Linked DNA regions of Homo sapiens: region 2 is linked to region 1. Evidence: promoter capture Hi-C in human tissues and cell types (Jung and others, 2019). All regions are on one chromosome and are shown on one strand. The core of a region is centred on a gene start or on the middle of the fragment in contact, and the rest is flanking DNA. Distances in the headings are between cores, read along the strand shown.

Region 1 (4,072 bases), core at 785-3,284:
CTCTCCGTGGGGGGTGGAACATTCCAGCCTCCAGCCCCCAGCCCCAGAGCGCTTACCCCTGGTCCCCTGGGGTCTCAGGGACATCGAGGATGAAGGCCAGTGGCTGGGCCATGTCTCTGGCCAATGCCCGCTAGTCTGCAGACCTAGGGTAGCTCAGAGCCTGGGCGCCACCTCCGGAGCCCCCATCTGATGAGACAGGGGCACAGAGCCAGGGGTGGTCTTCAACGCCTGGCAGCTGTCCACACCACCCATTCCTGGGGGAACCACAGGAGGTGCCACTCACAGCCCAGACAGTCCCGCCCACCCCCCTATCACCCCAGGTACATAAATGGTGAGGCACCGAATAAGCCTCATGCCAGAATGGAATGGGGGGCCCCCTCCAGTGTCAGGGGAGGGGAGAGAGGAAGGAAGGGTGTGGGGTCTGCAGTTCCACATCTGTTTCCTCGATGTCGCCAGTCCCTGGGAAATGGGGAAGAGGTAGGGTGCCTGTAGACACAGCCCCTTTCAGGATCTCCATGCCCAGGGTTCTGGCACAGAGACACCTCCTTTTTGGAGAGAAAGGTCAGAGTAGGCTGTAGGCCTTCTCTGCGTCTGCCCTGTGACCTCAAAGAACTTCCTCTAGCAGGAAATTAGCTGCTGGAGCCCTCACCCCCAACCAGCCCCAGGCGGAAGCAGCACAGGGGGCTCCTCCCCCACACACAGAGGTCACTCCATGCCACCGCCGTCAGGGCGCCAAGGTCCTCATGTTCTCAGAAGACCCACTGCCCTGCATTCCATCATCCCAGGGCGGCCGGCTGGGGGTGGCCAGGACCTCAACAGGCCTCCTTTGTCCTGGCTCTGCCGTCACCCGGCACAACTGGAACCAGAGCAGCCTTGTCTGGGGCCCTGGGCTCGGGGCCCGTTCATCTGTGAGAGTGGAGCCAGGACTCAGCTCCCAGCCACCAGCGAGTCCTGCCGGCCTCTGCCCTGGACTCCTCCTGCGCTCACCCTCAGGAACTCAGGGCTCAAAGTCGGCCGGGTTGAAGGGCGCTTTCCTCGGACAGGCAAAGCCCGGGGGCGCCCCGACAGAGCAGCTCCTTGCAGGGGTGCCAGTCACAGGACCGGACGGCGCCCTCCCTCAGTGTCCTGGGTGCCATCTTCGGGCCCAGGCCCCACACCACCCCCTCCCTCCAGCAGGAGCAAAGACGTGGGAAAACCAGCCCAGAGCTGGGTCCGAGGCGGCCCCACCCAGCCTAACACGGGACAGCTGCCGAAAGAGGGGCTGAGGACGCCCCACCCAGTCCCTAGAGCTGGAATCCCTTCCTCCAGACAGGCCCTTCTAAGCTCAGGGAACCCGGGGACTCGGGCACCCAGCGCCCCAGCACTCCGCCCCGAGGCCCAGGCAAGTCCAGCGGAGTTTCCAGGCGCACCATTCCTGAGCTAGGTGGGGAGAGGCTGGGTGGCGCCCGTTTCCAGGAACCCCCACCCCAGCCGGCAGCGAGCTTCCCGGGAGCAGCCGCTACCCAGGGAGAACCGCAACCTGGCCCCAGAGCCCAGAGCGGCTGCAACTCTGGGGCCACCGAACCCGTCCAGCCGGCCTCCCTGTCCCCCGCCCCTTCCCATCCCGGCCACACCCCCTCCCCTCCCCTCCCCGTGCCCTGGCGCTCGGCTGGGGGACCTGGGTGGGGGCTGCGGATTTTGCTCCCCGCACTGTCCTCCCCGCCCCTGCCGCTCCCAGCTCTGTCCGAGCCGGAGGGTCAAGCCCTGGGAGCTCCAGGAGCACCCGGGGAGGGAACTCGGCTGCCAAATGGCCCCAGAGGCCGAAAGGAATTCAGGGGGGATTGCCGCTGTCCCCGCATAGGAGAAGCAGCTGGGGCTGGCGGGACCCGGGACCGGGATCGCGGCCGCTCACCTGGGAGGCGCCGGGGAGGAGGGGCCGCGCGCGCAGCCAGGGCTCACCTGTGCCCCGCAAGAGCCGCCGGGAACTGAGGTCTCGGCTCTCCTTGCCAAGGGAGTGGCAAAGGGCCCCAGGGGCGACTGGGCCAGTCGCAGGTCTGCCGGGGCCGGGGGAGTAGCCGCACCTCCCGGCCCACGTGGGCGGGGGGGGGGGGGGCGGGCCTCGGCTATCACGTGACCCGGCCCGGCCCGCGGCGCCCCCGCCCTCCTCCGGGCGCCCCGCGGCGACTATGCCTTCCTCCCCTGCCAACTTCCGACCCCTCCTCCTGAGGTCTGAGCTGGGCTGGATTCATTCCAGCCCCTGGTTGAAGTCCCCAATTTTTCTGACGCTCAGTTTCCCCAAGTTCCAAAAAGGGGCAATATTTCCAGACTCATCTGCTTCCCATGGTTAGGGATCGTCCAAGTAAGATGCCGCCGAAAGCCCCAGGGACACAGAGTATCTCACTCCAGATTGGGCAGCGCCCCCCCCCCCGCCGCCCCCGCAAGCCTCCTGCTGACTCTCCCCGACCCCGGCGGGGGGAGCCTGGTTATCTCCCACTCCTGACACCTGGGCGGGGTTCATTGTTTATCTAGCAAGAGTTCTGGCTCACTTCCTGTGTGCTGTGTGGAGAGGAGGGGATGAAAAGGAGGACACGCTGACACTTAGGTGACTGTCCCCAGGTGCTGTACCCGTTGCCCTGTTTTCTGTTATTCCCCATGAGCCAGGAAGGTATGCACTGATATTCCCATTTCACAGATGAGGAAACTGAGGCTGAGAGAAGTTAATCACCCTTTAGGGTGCCCCCAGCCAAAGCAGGAGACTTAGTGGTCCACCTGGGAACTCTATGGAGGAAACTGCCTTTGAGATTGTACCCCCCACCCCAAGCCCATTTGGAAGGGAGGGTCATTCCTGGCGGGGAGAAGCCATGAAGCAGGCAGGGTGAATGTGAGCTGGGGCCCAGGAGGGCAGGAGAGGGCACTGCTGCAGGGGAGAGCAGGCAAGCAAAAGCGAGGACCAGGCAGGGGTCAAGGCTGGGGCCTTTTGGAGCTGCCAGTGTGGTCCTCAGATGGCTACCCCAAGCTGGTTCTTGGCAAGTGGCACCCTGGCATGGAGACCCAGCCCCTGCCTCTCCTCCCACTGCTTCCCCCTCCCTGCATACCCACACTGAATTTGCATGAATGCCACCTCCTCTGGGGAGCCTCCCCAGATTGAACCCTGGTGGAGCACCTACCACTTCCTATTGACATGTACATCTGTGGTTCTGTGCCCCCTCCTACCCCAGCCCACTGTGTGCCCAGCACCAGCACATAGCTTGCGCCTGACACACAGAAAGGACTCTGGAAACCAGGAAGGAGGTGGGCAGAGAGGCAGAAAAGCTATGAACATTCAGACCTGAGATGACTGGGCCCTATAGCAGGTAGAGAGGGAGCAGAGAGGAAGGGCTGCGGGCTTCCCAGGGGCCCAAGGACAGAGAATTGGCAAAGATATGTCTTAAACATCTAGCCTGGGAGAGCATGAATGGAGCCAATTCCTGAGCACTTACTACCGGCCAGGTGCTAGGCCTGGGTCTTGGCACAACCATAACGCCAATGACAGGGGCTGGAAGTACAGCAGTAACACCAAGAGTATCTGGAAACCCAGCAGCCAGGTTCTGGGGAGCCCACCATCCTGTCATTATCACACCCTCCAGGGTGAGGCCGGCAGATAAAGAGTTTGGCCCCTGTGCCCCCACCGTTCCCATCCCCACCCATGTCAGGCTCCCAGCTCAGGCCTCGAGGTCAAGTCCTGCCTATCCAGGCTGGAAGGAGTTGAACAGAGAGGGCCTCAGCTGCAGGCTGGACATCCCTGGAGGCAGCCAGGCGGCAGACCCGGACCAGTGGACCCTAGGGCTGCAGGAGACCAGGCCCTGACTCCTGTGCAGAGGGGAAGGGTGGGCCACCCGCAGCCCAGCATGCACAGAGCTCCCTGGGAGGCCAAGTGGCCTACGCCTGTCACCTTCACCTCTGCATCTCAGGGGCCCACAGGAAGTGCCTGCTTGGCCTCAGTTTAAAGCAGAGGAAACCATGGGGTGAGAGGGGAGGAGGGAGGTAGTGGAGAGGGAAGCTGGGTTTCCTGTCATATGACCCCTCCTCTGGGCTCCCTCACCACCCTGCCTGG
Region 2 (7,252 bases), core at 1,749-4,248, 350 kb after region 1:
TTTATTGATACTTTTTGATATGTAGTCTCACTCTGTTGCCCAGGCTGGAGTGCAGTGGCACGATCTCAGCTTACTGCAACCTCTGCCTCCTGGGTTCAAGTGATTCTCACATCAGCCTCCCGAGTAGCTGGGACTACAGAGGCACACTCCACCATGCCCAGCTAATTTTTGTATTTTTAGTAGACACAGGGTTTCACCATGTTGGCCAGGCTGGTCTCGAACTCCTGACCTCGTGATCTGCCCGCCTTGGCCTCCCAAAGTGCTGGGATTACAGGCATGAACCACTGCACCCGGCTGGGCTGATACTTTACGTGGGAGGAGGTGGGCATAACTTAGCCTCCCTCAGCCACAAACTCCTGCTCAGTAAAATGGGGATATAAGCACCAAACTTATGTGTTGTTGGAGAAGGAGAAAATGGGAATGTAAGGGGCCAAACCCAATCTCTGACTCAGAGTAAGCAGTCAGTAAATGAGAGGAAATATTATTACCATCACCACCACCATCGCTATCATCACCACCATCATCATTACCACATCACCATCACCACCATCATCACCACCATCACCATTATCATCTCCACCATCACCACCACCATCATCATCACCACCATCACCACCACCATCATCACCATCATCACCATCACCACCACCATCACACCACCATCATTACCATTATCATCTCCACCATCACCACCACCATCATCACCATCACCACCACCATCATCATCATCTCCACCATCACCACCACGTGGCATCATCACATCACCATCATCACCATTACCACCATAACATCACCATCATCACCATTATCACCATCATATCACCACCACCACCATCATCACCACATCACCATCACCACCATCATCACCACCATCACCATTATCATCTCCACCACCATCACCATTATCATCTCCACCACCATCACCACAATCACATCACCACCACCACCATTATCACCATCACATCACCCACATCACCATCACCACCACCATCACTGCCACCACTATTATCATCAGCACCACCATCACTACCACTATCACCATCATCACCACCATCATTACCAACATTACCATCACCATCACTATTGCCATCATCACCACCATCACTATCACCATCATTATCACCACCATCACCCTCACCACCACCATCACTATCATCACCACCATCATGACAATCACCATCATCATGACCATCACCATTACCACCATCACTACCACTGTCACCACCACCGTCATCACCCCCATTATTATAATCATTATCACCATTACCATCACCACCATCACTACCATCACTACCACCATCATCACAATTATTACCATCATTACCATCACCACCACTATTGCCATCATCACCACCATCATCACCATCACCACCATCACTATCATCATCACATCACCATCACTATCATCATAACCATCACTACCACCATCATCACATCACCATCATCACGACCATCACCATTACCACCATCACTACCACTGTCACCACCACCATTACCATCACCACCATTATTATCATCATTATCATTACCACCATCACCACCATCATCAGTCCACACCTCCCTGAGAGCTGTGATGAGGAAAGCACCTGTGGATCAGGCACTGGACCGTAAGGCAGGCATGACATAAAGCTACAAGAGCAGTACCTGGAAAATATTGGAGAGGTCCCTGAGGTTGAAGACATAATGAAACTTAATGGCCGTGGGAAGAAATGTTGCCGTGATTTTCTGATGCAAAGCTGTTAGAGGAAAAGGACGTGTCAATTCTCATGTACTCTTGATGGCCCCAGGAAGTGCAAGCCTCAAGTTTCTAAAGCCAATGGACTACGAAATGGTGACAACTGGAGTAAGAAATCTGCACAGCTCTTTGAAGTGGGAGGGAATTTGCTGTTCTCCTTAAATCATTTGTGTATAGAATTTCCTAGCCCCTACCTCCCCATGAAGCAATTGTATTTCACAATTTCTCCTGTCGAAACATAGCATCGTTTTTAAGATATTGATTTAGAATTATAAATAAAATATTTATCAAGGGAAAATGTGAAGAACCATCAGCCCACAGAGCCATAGGTTTTACCGATGGGAGAGGGGATGAGGCCAGCCAGCTTACCCAGGGCCGCGGCCACCAGCTGGCTGCTTATCCTCTGGATAGCCATGGAGACCGAGCGGAAGGCCAGGTGCTGCGTCAGGATTGTGTTGTAGATGGTGGTGAGGGCCTCCTGGCCGGGGAAGCTCACAGCAAACACGCAGAAATGGCGCTACCCCAAAACAACCAAACACTCCAGTCAGCCAGCTCTTGGGGACCTGCCTGGGGCCAGGGCCACCTTCGCGGGAGAGTGGCCCCTGTCCTCATGTTCTAAGGTCTTTTGGGCATTGTCAGAATGGGCAGTTACCCTCCTTGTGCCTTGCATGTGGTAAAACTGCATTAAGTATCATTACACATGAAACAGACAAATTTACTTCATGCTCTCAAGAAGAATTTTGGCAAAGGCAAGAGATGGGCTCAGAGTACAGGCCTGGGTTTAAATCCAGATCTCTGTGTGTTTAGATAACTTAGAGGCAAAGTCTGTCTGGGTAAGGGCTACAGATAAAATACAGGATGCCCTGCTAAATCTGAATTTCAGATAAACAACAAGTACTTTTTTTTTTTTTTTTTTTTTTTTTTTTTTTTTTTTAAAAAAAGTATGTCCCAGGCCGGGCACGGTGACTCCCACCTGTAATCCCAGCACTTTGGGAGGCCGAGGAGGGCAGATCACTTGAGGTCAGAAGTTCGAGACCAGCCTGGCCAATATGGTGAAACCCCGTCCCTACTAAAAATACAAAAATTAGCCAGGTGTGGTGGCGCACACCTGTAGCCTCAGCTGCTTGGGAGGCTGAGGCAGGAGAATTGCTTAAACCCGGGAAGCGGAGGTTGCAGTGAGCTCAGATCACACCATTGCACTCCAGCCTGGGTGACAGAGTGAGACTCAGCCTCAAAACAAAAACAAAACAACAAAAAAAGAACGGTATGTCCCAAATATTGTATGTAACATACTTAGACTAAAAACATATTTATTTATCTGGAGTTTGGATTTAACTGCAATTTTATTTGCTAACTCTGCCAGTTGACCGGGTCACAGGGAAGGCTGGCTAGCTGCTCATCCTCTCCATGCCCTGGAATTTTCTGACACATTCTGCAAAGTTAAGGAGTTCTCCAGAAAATGTCGGCCTGCAGCCCTAACACCCTAAACCAAAGCTTTTCCTCTCATTTGCCAGAAGCAAGCCTCAGACTCATGGCAGGTGACGGGGATGAGTATGGTTTCTGCTTACCTGAAGCCTGGAGTCGATGGTGAAGGATCCGGAAGTGGGGTTCATGCAGGCCACGTACTGACAATTATGGATATCTTTTAACGTCAGCTTATGTCTGTCATACCTGAGGGGGGAAACCAGCATTCATGTTGTGCCCCTGGCCTGGAGGAACCATCCCCTGCCCCCACTGTGCTCCCAAGAATGCCCTCCTTATTATTATTTTTTTGAGACAGAGTCTCGCTCTGTTGCCCAGGCTGGAGTGCAGTGGCACAATCTCGGCTCACTGCAAGCTTTGCCTAATTTTTTGCATTTTTAGTTGAGACGGGGTTTCGCCGTGTTAGCCAGGATGGTCTCGATCTCCTAACCTCGTGATGCGCCCGCCTCAGCCTCCCAAAGTGCTGAGATTACAAGTGTGAGCCACCACGCCCGCCCCCCATCCCCCGGCTTTTTTTTTTTTTGAGATGGAGTCTCACTCAGTCACTCAGGCCGGAGTGCAGTGGCATGATCTTGGCTCACTGCAACCTCCGCCTCCTGGGTTCGCCCCATTCTCCTGCCTCAGCCTCCCGAGTAGCTGAGACTACAGGTGCCCGCCACCATGCCTGGCTAATTTTTTTGTACTTTTAGTAGAGACTGGGTTTCACCGTGTTAGCCAGGATGGTCTTGATCTCCTGACCTTGTGATCCGCCCGCCTCAGCCTCCCAAATGCTGGGATTACTCCATGTGGTCTTAAAAACCCTCCACAGATACTGATAATATGTGAAGCAGCTGCTGTGACTTCATGCTCTCCAGAGAAATTTTGAAACAAGAGGCAAAAGAGTGGCTCAGAGAGCAGGCTGGGGTTTATGTTCCAGCTCTTCCCCTAAGCAGTGCTGGGGCTCTGGGAAGTTGGTTAACATCTCTGTGCCTTAATATTCTCACCTGTGCAATGGGTCATGAGGAGGATAAAATGAGCTAACATATGAAAAAACACTGGGAAGAGTACCTGACATACAGTAAGTATGCAATAAATATTCACCATCCCTGTTATCAGGATAATTATTAATGGCTGCTATTATTAAATAAGCTGAATAGGCCAGGCACAGTGGCTCATGCCTGTAATCCTAGCACTTTGGGAGGCTGAGATGGGCAGATCACTTGAGGTCAGGAGATCAAGATCAGCCTGGCTAGCATAGTGAAACCCCATCTCTACTAAAAATACAAAAATTAGCCAGGCATGGTGGCAGGCACCTGTAATCCCAGCTACTTGGGAGGCTGAGGCAGGAGAATTGCTTGAACCTGGGAGGTGGAGGCTGCAGTGAGCCAAGATCATGCTATTGCACTCCAGCCTGGGCAACAGAGCAAGATTTCATTTCAAAAATAAAATAAAATAAGCTGAATAATTTCCTTGATGTCACACTACACTAGTTACTTTTTTTTTTTTTTTTTTTTCCCCCGAGACAGGGTCTTGCTCTCTCACCCCGGCTGGAGTGCAGTGGTGAACACAGCTCACGGCAGCCTCTATCTCCTGGGCTCAAGCTGTCCTCCCAACCTCAGCCTCACACTACCATGCCCGGCTAAGTTTTTGTAGAGACAGGGTCTCACTATATGACCTGGGTTCAAGTGATCCTCCTGCCTCCACCTCCTAAAGTGTTGAGATTACAGGCCTGAGCCACTGCGCCCAGCACTTTTGTTTTTTTCCCCCATTATGCACTTTGTGTGTTGGAAGTTGACGTCTGTTAGTTTCTAGTAATTCCTTGTATATTTCAGATATTAATCCACTGTCAATTTTATACATTGCAAATGTTTTCTTCCATTCTTTTATTTCTCCATTATATATGTCCATGGTGTCTCTCACTGAGCAAAATTCCTTAACTTTCATTTAAATCACAGCCATCAATTTTTTGCCCTTCTGTGTGTGCCTCTGAAACTTTTGCCTGCGCAGTCCTCTCCTGTGCACACTTCTCAGGTCACAGATGTTGTCCCTGTTTGCTTCTGCCCACCTCACAGCTCACCCTTTCCCTGCGGGCCCATCCTTCCCACGGGCCCCACCCTTGTCTGCCTTTTTCTTCCACAGGTGAGCATTTTCCTGACACATCCACTAAACAGTCCATCCTTCCCTGTTGTCGTGGGGCCATGTTAATCTGATATTCTAGAAGGATCTTTTGAAAACTCAAATCTCACTCTGCCACCCCTCCTGAAGATCCTTCAGGGTAAACTCCAGGGCAGATGTGGACCTAGGGCTGAAGCTTAAGAATGTGGAGGCTCCTCCTTGAGGAAAAGAAAGCAAAAATCTTAAACAAATTTTACAAGGGCACATGACCGTGTGCAACCCTTGGAAGGGGCCTCGCGAGTTGCAGGGAAACCGAGGCTGAGCCGCCACAGCCCTCACAGTAGACCTGCCTGCAGAGAGGAACGGGTGGGCTCTCATGCATGCACCTGTCCTCCTCTCCTGTCTGGGTACCCTCAAATCTCCCACCCCACACCACGTTAGGTTCTCCTCAAATGATGTCAAACTCTCTCCAGGCTCCCTCCTCAGAGTGGCAGCTTTGTCACCTCCCCCAGGGAGCCACCTCTGATGCCTCCGTCCCCACATCACAGCCTGCAGCCCAGAGTAGGCTTCCTATAGTCGTGAGCTCTGGGAGTGTCGTTTAGTGAGGAAAAGGCAAGTGATGGAGTCAGACATATCTGAACTCAAAATCCAGTTCTGGCTGAGCGTGGTGGCTCACGCCTGTAGTCCCAGCACTTTGGGAGCCCGAGGCGGGCAGATCACCTGAGGTCAGGAGTTAGAGACCTGCCTGGCCAATATAGTTAAGCCCCGTTTCTACTAAAAATACAAAAATTAGGTGGGCATGGTGGCAGGCACCTATAATTTCAGCTACTTGGGAGACTGAGGCAGGAGAATCGCTGGAACCCAGGAGGCAGAGGTTGCAGTGAGCCAAGATCACGCCATTGGACTCCAGCCTGGGCAGCAAGAGCGAAACTCTGTCTTGGAAATAATAATAATAATAATAATAATAACCCAGCTCCGCCACTCATTAGGACCATGACCTCAAGTAGACTACCTAACCCCCCATGCCTGCCTTTCTCGGCATGAGGCCAGGCTTCATGAACGAGCAGACTAGTTTCTAGGCTCTTTTGGCCTGAGCTACTTGCTTATTTTAAGAGACAACTATGGCTGGGCACGGTGGCTCACACCTCTAATCCCAGCACTTTGTGAGGCCAAGGCGGGCGGATCACCTGAGGTCAGGAGTTCGAGAACAGCCTGGCCAACATGGCGAAACCCCTTCTCTACTAAAAGTACAAAAATTAGCCGGCGTGGTGGTGGGCACCTGTATTACCAGCTACTCAGGAGGCTGAGGAAGGAGAATTCCTTGAACCCAGGAGGCGGAGGTTGCAGTAAGCCAAGATCGAGCCATTGCACTCCAGCCTGAGAGACAGAGCGAGATTTCTCCTCAAAAAAAAAAAAAAAAAAAAAAAAAAAAAAGACAACTGAACTGAATGTTCTCATCTTTCCAAACTGCAAACCTAAACGTGCCACCTTTGGTTTCTCGGTGCCGTTAGGAGAAAATCTGCACTCTGTCCCGAGGCCCTGGGATTCTGGCTGCAGCTGCCCTGGGCACCCTCTGCCTCTGGCTCTCACATCCTTGCCACACCGGCCTTCCTGGGCTTCTTCACGTGTGGCAGGGCATTTACACGTGGCAATCTCTCCACCCAGAATGCTCTCCCTCTAAGGTCCCACAGCCAGCAGGACACTGCTGCCAGCTTCCAGCTGTGCACCATCTCCCCAGGGGCATCTCTCTGCTGGGGCTCCCAGCTGGGAGGCTCCTCTGTGACTGCACTGGGGGTTTTCCTCAGGGCTCTTCCTTTACCGGGTAATGTGCTTCTTCCTCTCCCGGCGGGACAGACACCTCGGTGGAAGGGGGGAAGGAGGATCCCCCCCTCCGCGGGGGCTCTAGGCCACTGCTGCATGTTTGTGAAATGGGTGATGGAC

The links. The method cuts DNA at HindIII sites, captures the fragments that hold promoters and counts their contacts. A contact is called where the count stands out against the background at its distance.
Region 2: a contact is called between a fragment that was not itself captured here and the fragment with the promoter of TMC6 in region 1, in 1 of the 25 tissues and cell types used here (spleen).

Annotation. Positions count from the first base shown.
Region 1 is chr17:78,126,721-78,130,792 of GRCh38, forward strand. It overlaps TMC6 (transmembrane channel like 6), which reads right to left and starts at 2,035. Exons shown (of 20, transcript NM_001127198.5): 1 at 1,892-2,035; 2 at 57-186. The coding sequence starts at 112. It overlaps TMC8 (transmembrane channel like 8), which reads left to right and starts at 4,051. Exons shown (of 16, transcript NM_152468.5): 1 at 4,051-4,072. RefSeq lists silencers at 149-198, 249-328, 1,599-2,128 and an enhancer at 669-918. The HindIII fragment of the contact is 22,186 bases long and covers 1-4,072 here.
Region 2 is chr17:78,477,381-78,484,632 of GRCh38, forward strand. DNAH17 (dynein axonemal heavy chain 17) reads right to left here. Exons shown (of 81, transcript NM_173628.4): 49 at 3,304-3,406; 50 at 2,105-2,252; 51 at 1,645-1,736. Among named protein-coding and RNA genes, the nearest start is that of DNAH17-AS1, 3.9 kb to the right of the region's middle. RefSeq lists enhancers at 7,043-7,182, 7,213-7,252. The HindIII fragment of the contact is 3,081 bases long and covers 1,459-4,539 here.